Linked DNA regions of Homo sapiens: region 2 is linked to region 1. The links are contacts of gene promoters, found by promoter capture Hi-C in blood cells and fetal thymus (Javierre and others, 2016). All regions are on one chromosome and are shown on one strand. Each heading gives the region's core, a stretch centred on a gene start or on the middle of the fragment in contact. The rest is flanking DNA. Distances are from core to core; before and after follow the strand shown. Region 1 holds the start of C14orf119 (chromosome 14 open reading frame 119). Region 2 overlaps DAD1 (defender against cell death 1).

Region 1 (4,029 bases), core at 440-2,939:
TAATAGAACCAGTACTAAAATCCCTATTATCTTCTGCACTTTCGCCAAGTGCCCCTTCTAAATCTGATCATGCATGTAAAATTACTTAAAATACTCAAACCAGCCATGGGGCTCCTGGTTTTTGCCTGACGGAATTACTTGGTCAAAGGGTTACCCAGTACCAGGGTCAATTTGTATAATTTCCAGTACTGTGGCACCTAGATTTATCAAATTTATAAAATTTTCAAAGAGGAAGCTACAGAAGAAAATGACCACAGACCCTGTAAACTGTGGTCTAACCTAGTCTATCCACACAAACACACACACACAAACACACACACACAAAACTATCAGCTTCTGTATAAGCAACGGTCTGCCAACTCAACCCTGGAGCCAACCCAGACCTAATCTGCACTACCTGCCACGTATCCTGTTGAACTCTAATTAAAACCAAGACATCCTCATCTTCCCTTCTTTAAACCAAACCTATACACTTGAATCGAGCTACACCTACCTCATGACAATCCCACCTTAATCTACTCAAACCGATTCAAAATCCCCAATATATATCAACCTGCCTCGCCTCTCTCACCAATATTCACCAAACTCTTAACCACCCAAATTGCCACTAGATGCCACTAAATTAGAGACCTCTCTCTCATCAAGTCCCTTCAAATAAAGGTCTCTCTTCATCTCACCTCCTCATCTAATCGAGCAGACATTTTACCCTACCCCAGTCCTATTCGTGCAGATACCGATACCAACCCCATCCACCCCTTCGCGCAACTATACCCCTAACTCCGACCCAGCCCAACTCGCCCCCCTCAGGCCAGCAACGCCGTAGGTTGTAGTGGGATTTAACTCCTTCTGCAGCGCATGCGCCGAAACCACAGATACAAACAAGGAGGGGGTGGGGGAAGGAGGAAGGAGCTTAAGACACTCCTGGAGAGTAGTGCACACCCTCCCATTTGGGCTCGCGCTGCTGCCGTTAAGGCGGGAACCGGCGCGATCTCCATTCCAGCGCGAACCTCATCAACCACCGTGCGCGCGGATCCAGAGGCTCGCGCTGGCGGCCTGAGCGAGCTCGCGCCGAGCCCGGATACTGCGCCTGCGCCGCGGCAGAGGCTCGTCTCTACCGGGTCCGCTCTCCTCCGACACCCCAGCAACGCCGACTCCTCACCCCTTTGAGCCGCTTGACCAGGGCACTCTTCTGCCCGCTCTTGGCTAGGCCTCGCTGCTCCAGTGCGGCCTTCAGGTCGGTCACCCGCAGCGCCTGAAGAGGCTTCCCGTCCAGAGTCACCTCCTCCAGCTCCGCCATCTTGCGTGAGGTACTCGGGTCCGTCCCGACGGCTTCGGGCATCTTCGGTAATTTCCGCCAACGCCCTTCGAACGTACCGAGATGACCCCGCCCACTGCCATACTCTACCCCTCGATTACCACTCAGAACTCCCCGGGTTCCTCCGGATGTCCTCGGATGTTTCCGTCTCCACATCGTTACCAATCAATTCTTTCCATCCGCCCTGCAGCGCCCCTTTTCTCGCCCTGCTTTCAGGCTCGGTTTTCTTCGTCTTGCCGAAGCTTTGAATCGAATATATTCGGAAACCCTCGACCCTGGTATAACCATAATCGGAGATGTTCGTTTATTTCCGGACCTAGAGATGAGGCGCTGGGGCGCTTGGGTGTTTGGGGCGGGTCCGAGGCCGGAAGTGCGTGGGCTGCCGGGCTGGCCCAGCTTAGGGTTTTCAGGAAATTTGGAAGCTGCCGCAGTAGTTGGAGTCTAAGGACTCGTGACAATCTTCGGGTGCCCTTCGAGAGAAAAGGGGAGGTAAGCGGGGTAGAAGTACCTCTATGGGCCGGGTCAGACTCGGTGTTTGCGGATTACCTTAATAGGGCAAGCCCCCCACTCCTTAACGCAAACAGCTTCTGCCCTCTGTCCTCTGAATCATAGCCACTCCCATCTTAGGCTTTTTTTGGGGAGGGGCGGGGGGCTGGTGCGGAATCGGAATAACAAGCTCCGTGGGGGTGCGCAAGAAGCATCGCCGTGTCTTCGGACCCAGACTATGAACTGATCTATGACGCTGAACTTGAGTTTGAGTTTGCCTTGGAAGCCATGTGGCAAGATTCTGGGAAAGTTCTTCCTTGCTCCGCAGAAGAGAGTAAGTTCCCTTGGAGGAACTGCTTCCTGTAGGGCAAGAACTGGAAAATGCAAGCGCCCTGAACTTTTTTGGTACTTGAACTAATATTAATTGTTTAGGGGCTTCTTTCTTTGTCACTACCAATCCTCCAACTTGATGCAGAAGAAACACAAACAGTAAAATAGGTCACAGACAAATAGTTTAGAGATTTAAGAGATACGTTAGAGATTTAAGAGACTGAAAACTATTAAAGTCAAATTGGCTGATCTTTCCGTTGCATTCATGATGCAAAATCAGTGGCAAGGTGCCGGGCGCGGTGGCTTACGCCTATAATCCCAGCACTTTGGGAGGCCGAGGCGGGCGGATCACTTGAGGTCAGGAGTTGGAGACCAGTCTGGCCAATATGGTGAAACCCCGTCTCTACTAAAAATACAAACAAATTAGCCGGGCGTGGTGGCGTACGCCTATAGTCCCAGCTACTCGGGAGGCTGAGGCAGGAGAATCGCTTGAACCCAGGAAGCAGTGGTTGAGATCACGCCATTGCACTACAGCCTGGGTGACAGAGCAAGACTCCGTCTCAAAAAAAAAAAAAAAAAAAAAAAAAATTGCAAGGCACCAATAGATACCATACTAAAAAAAAAAAAAAATTTTTTTTTTGTCACTCCACTCTGGGTCCCTCCACTCTGACGCAGGCTGGAGTGCAGTGGCGCGATCAGGGCTCACTGCAGCCTCAACCTCCCGGGCTCAGGTGATGCTCCTACCTCAGTCTCCTACGTAGCTAGGACTACAGGTAGGCACCTCTACGCTCAACTAATTTTTTTATTTTTTGTAGGGATGAGGTTTTGCCATGTTGCCCAGGCTGGTCTCGAACACCTGGGCTCAAGCGATCCTCTTGCCTCGGCCTCTCAAAGTGCTGAGATTACTTTGGAAGTGCAAGAACCACCGCGTCTGGCCCATACTAAATATTAAGGACAATTGTTTAAAGACATGGATTGTCATAAAATAGTATAACACTTGTTAGATCTCTAAGCCAACAAACCAACTGGACTCTTTTTTAAGAACGTCTCAAACACCCGGGCTTCTGGTTCTTTCATGCGTTACCTTATTTTGAGCAAGGTCCTTACTCTGCTTTTTAACTTTTCCTGGTGCTTTACAGGAAATGTAAGGAGGTAACGGATGTTATGGAGTTGTTGGCATATTTCAGAGGCTTATATGCACATTGAAGGCTCTTTCATCATAAATAATGTTTTTTCTTTCTTCCCCCACTGTTGATAGCTGCAAAACAATTAGCATCAGCCTTGACCAGCTGCACGTACTAGATTTTAAAATGTGTGCATTTTCATTTTGGAGAAGATGTAATGGACCAACATTAATCATTGTTTTTTTCTTTACCCAACCTGGCACATAGAAGTAAGAGGAAGAGAATGAACAAGAAATATATTGGTTATTTTTAGGTTCTTTATAAGAAAGATGGAGGAAGACAGTGGGTGGGGAAGAATGGGTTTGAAAAAGGCAGGCAAATAGGAAATGAAGTTATTTTTGGTGATTTTTCTAAGGTAGTTGGATAATAATCTAAATAAAGGACTCTTATTATTTTGGGTCTTTGAATTCATAAAAAGTAATTTTCTCTGTAGATGCTAATTGAGTGTGGTAAGATGTCTTGTTGCTTGAAAGTTGTATTTTCGTTGCTCTACCTGGAGAGCATATAACAGTGCTTTTATGTTTCAGGATGCCACTGGAGTCATCCTCTTCAATGCCACTATCCTTCCCATCTCTCTTACCCTCAGTACCACACAATACTAACCCTTCCCCTCCTCTGATGTCTTACATCACCTCCCAGGAGATGAAGTGTATTCTTCACTGGTTTGCCAATTGGTCAGGTCCCCAGCGTGAACGTTTCCTAGAGGACCTGGTA
Region 2 (4,029 bases), core at 509-3,008, 520 kb before region 1:
CCAAAAACAAACAAAAAAAAGGCCGGGCACGGTGGCTCACGCCTGTAATCCCAGCACTTTGGGAGGCCGAGGCAGGCGGATCACCTGAGGTCGGGAGTTCAAGACCAGCCTGACCAACATGGAGAAACCCCTTGTCTACTAAAAATACAAAATTAGCCGGGCATGGTGGCGCATGCCTGTGATCCCAGTTGCTTGGCAGGCTGAGGCAATGAGGCAGGAGAATTGGTGGAGGTGGAGGTGGAGGTGAGCCAAGATCGTGCCATTGCACTCTAGCATGGGCAACAAGAGCGAAACTCCATCTAAAAAAAAAAAAATTAAAAAATAAAACAAGGGCCAGGCACGGTGGCTCACTCCTGTAATCCCCGCACTTTGGGAGGCCAAGGTGGGTGGATCACCTAAGGTCAGGAGTTCAAGACCAGCCTGGCCAACATGGGGAAACCCCATCTCTAATAAAAACTACAGAAATTAGCTGGGCATGGTGGCACGCACCTGTAATCCCAGCTACTCAGGAGGCTGAGGCAGGAGAATTTGCTTAAACTCAGGAGGTGGAGGTTGCAGTGAGCCGAGATTGCGCCACTGCACTCCAGCCTGGGCAAGAGAGACTCCGTCTCAAAACAAAACAAAACAAAAAAGTATATGCTATATGATTCCATGTACAAAAAGCTTAAAACTTGGTAAAACCAATCTATGGCAAGATAGTGGTTTTTATCTTTCACAGGGAGAGGATAACTGGGAAGATGCAAGGAGGCATCTATGGTGCTGGTAATGTCCTGCATCTTGATCTGGATAGTGGTTAGACAGGTACATTTAAAAATTTATCAAGTTGTACAATTAAATTTCGCACTCTGTTAAAGGAAAAAAAATATTACTTCTCAGAGTTACACTGAAACCTAGAGGCTTTCTCAAAGAAAAAAATATATAACCAAAAAACCCACAAAGCTCTCTTATCTGCTGATTTAAAGGTTTCTAATTATACCTAGATGGGGATGCACTTGAGGCAACAACAAAGGGTCCGGGCTGAATGATAAAAAGTTATAAAAATGTGAATTATTTTCTAATAGAATATTCATTTAATGGGTAGCAGAGTTTATAAAGATAGCACGCTCATTCTTGAGAACCTCACAGTTCTCGATAAACTATCTTTGATCTCGAAGTTCTAGCAGCTGCTTATTTGTCTCAAAAAAGGCAGAAGACCTAAGAGAGATAACTCATGAGAACTCTCCACTGCCACACTCCATCCCCTTGAAGATTCTAACAGTCACCATTGACAAAAAAAAAAAAACAGGCAGTTCCAGGAATACACTCTTCCGAAGTATCTTTATGCCTGTGATAAATTATTACATTGCTTAAGAAAACCTAAACTCGCTTCAGGCTAGCATCATCCCATCATTAACTAAGAAAAAGCAACAAACAAATCTAATCCAAAGGCCAGAAAACTATCAGACTAGTTCTCCAGAGCCTGTCACCATGGCAACAGTTTTCATTATGCTTAAACATGTAAACACCATGGAAGCACCATTGATCCTTTCAGGTATCCAGACCCTTAAAAATATTAAAGACAATGACTGAAGCAAGGGTAACCAGTGTAAACCCCTGCTGTAGAAAGTACAGATTCATTCATCCACTTGGGAGAGCAACTAGCAATATCCATTAATATTTAAAATGATTTTACCTTTTGACAAAGGAATTTATCTTACAGAACAAAGACATTCTGAAAGTATGTTTGTAAAGTTGAAAAAAAAATTAAAACAGTCTAAACATCAAGGGGATTAAACTATACAACTGACATGCAATGAAATCCCATGCAATTATTCAAAAGAATAAGGTAAATTCTCTGTACATTGACAGCAAACATATCTAAGACTTATTAAGTGAAAAAAAGCCAATCCTTTTTTTTTTTTTTTTTGAGACAGGGTCTCACTCCATCACCCAGGCTGGAGTGCAGTGGTGCAATCATGGCTCCCTGCAGCCTCGACCTCCTGGGCTCAAACAATCCTCCCACCTCAGCCCCCTGAGTAGCTGAGACAACAGTCATGCACCACCATGCCTAGCTAATTTTTTTGTTTGTTTTTGGTAAAGACAAGGTCTCCCTATGTTGCCCAGCAATCCTCCCGCCTCTGCTTGCCTAAGGGTAGGGATTACAGACATGAGCCCCCACACCCAGCCCATTCCTAATTTCACTTGGCCAGGGCATGGTGGCTCACAACTGTAACCCCAGCATGTTGTGAAACCAAGGTGGGAGGATCGCTTGAGCCCAAGAGCTTGAGACCAGCCTGGGAAAGATAGGGAGACCCTGTCTCTACAAAAAAAATGTTTTAATTAGCCAGGTGTGGTAGCACACACCTATGGCCCCAGCTACTCGGGAGGCTGAGATGGGAAGATTGCTTGAGCCCAGGAGGTAGAGGTTGCAGGCTGCAGTGAGCCACAGTCATGCCACCGCACTCTGGCCTGGGAGACAAATCAAGACCGTCTCAAAAAAAAAGTAAAATATTTTATTTACATATAATGATATACATAATTATCTTGTCATTTCAGTTAGAATCTAGAAAAAAATCTGAAGAAATAGAAAACTATTAATAGTGGTCATTGGAGTAAAGAACACGGTGTTGAGTTTTGAGGAAATATGAGGGAAAAAAAGAAAAATTATCCATGAAGGTGGATAAGGTAATAAATTGATGTTATTATTATTGTGATCATGGTAACCAGATTATTTCAATGAAAACATATGAATCAGAGTCCCACAAAGTTGGAAAGGACCTCAGAGGTCATAAACACCAACACCCCATTTGATGTATACAATGCCCAAGAGGTGGTAGGGGGTGGCCATGCTTGGGGAGGCGTACTAATCACGTGGGAAGCTTTCCAAAGTATACTCACCACTTACAGAATCTGGTAAGCCACCTCCAGATGGAGAATTATCAACTTTCCAGAGCCTGTGTTACTGATAAGGATATCACATCTCTCAGATGCATTGGAAACAAAAAAGGCAAAAAAAAAAGCCTGTTCAAAATGCTCCACTACCAATGATCCTTCAGTCTCTCCCTGGGCACTTCCAAAGATGGAAATTTACTACCTCTTCAAGCAGTCTGTTCCATTTTAGCAATTCTGATTTACTCTATCCCCTTAAATGTCCATTTATTCCATAAAATATTTACTAAACATCTACTACATGACAAGCATCATTTCAGGTGCTAGGAATATGGCACAGAACAAAACAGTCTGGCTCTCAAGGAACTTACACTCCTATGGAGAGAAACATATAATCAATAAGTTAACAAATAAACCAGGAACTACTAGGTAGAGATATGTACTATGAAGAAAATAAAACAGGATAATAAAGAGTGACTGGGAAGCTTTTCTTAAATTCAATCATAACAGAAGGTCTCTTTAAGAGCTTGCTATTTAAGACCAATATTTGAAAGATAAGGAACCAACCATGTAAAAATCTGGGGGCAGAGCATTCTAGACAGTAAGAACAATCTTGACATGTTATAAACACAAGGACAGACGCCAGGCATGGTGGCTCACACCCGTAATCCCAGCACTTTGGGAGGTCGAGGCGGGTGGATAACCTGAGGTCGGGAGTTCGAGACCAGCCTGACCAACATGGAGAAACCCCGTCTCTACTAAAAATACAAAAAATTAGCCAGGCTTGGTGGTGCATGCCTGCAATCCCAGCTACTCAGGAGGCTGAGGCAGAAGAACCGCTTGAACCCGGGAGGCGGAAGTTGCAGTAAGCCGAGATCGTGCCATTGCACTCCAGCCTGGGCAACAAGAGCAAAACTCCATCTCAAAAAAAAAAAAAAAAAAAAAAAAAATCAAGGACAGACCAACAAGACTATAGTGATCAAGGGGAAGGACACAAGGGCCAAATCCTGAGGGGCATGGTAAGCCTCAGAAAACAGTACGGATTCAGTTATAAGAGCGGTGGAACAGTATAATGGTTCGCAAGGTTAAAAAGAGGCAGAAGGCCGGGCGCAGTGGCTCACGCCTGTAATCCCAGCACTTTGGGAGGCCGAGGTGGGTGGA

Evidence for each region. Contacts are between HindIII fragments. The CHiCAGO score rates a contact against its expected background, and 5 or more counts as called.
Region 2: a contact is called between a fragment that was not itself captured here and the fragment with the promoter of C14orf119 in region 1, in 1 of 17 cell types (neutrophils). The highest score is 5.7, in neutrophils.

What each region holds. Positions count from the first base shown.
Region 1 is chr14:23,093,816-23,097,844 of GRCh38, forward strand. C14orf119 (chromosome 14 open reading frame 119) reads left to right here and starts at 1,690. Exons shown (of 2, transcript NM_017924.4): 1 at 1,690-1,804; 2 at 3,843-4,029. The coding sequence starts at 3,844. ACIN1 (apoptotic chromatin condensation inducer 1) reads right to left here and starts at 1,321. Exons shown (of 19, transcript NM_001386863.1): 1 at 1,160-1,321. The coding sequence starts at 1,297. RefSeq lists enhancers at 1,062-1,371, 1,077-1,600, 1,412-1,491, 1,512-1,721, 1,601-2,124. The HindIII fragment of the contact is 5,470 bases long and covers 1,556-4,029 here.
Region 2 is chr14:22,577,952-22,581,980 of GRCh38, forward strand. All of the region lies in intron 1 of DAD1 (defender against cell death 1), which reads right to left. Among named protein-coding and RNA genes, the nearest start is that of DAD1, 9.3 kb to the right of the region's middle. RefSeq lists a silencer at 2,306-2,468. The HindIII fragment of the contact is 2,195 bases long and covers 662-2,856 here.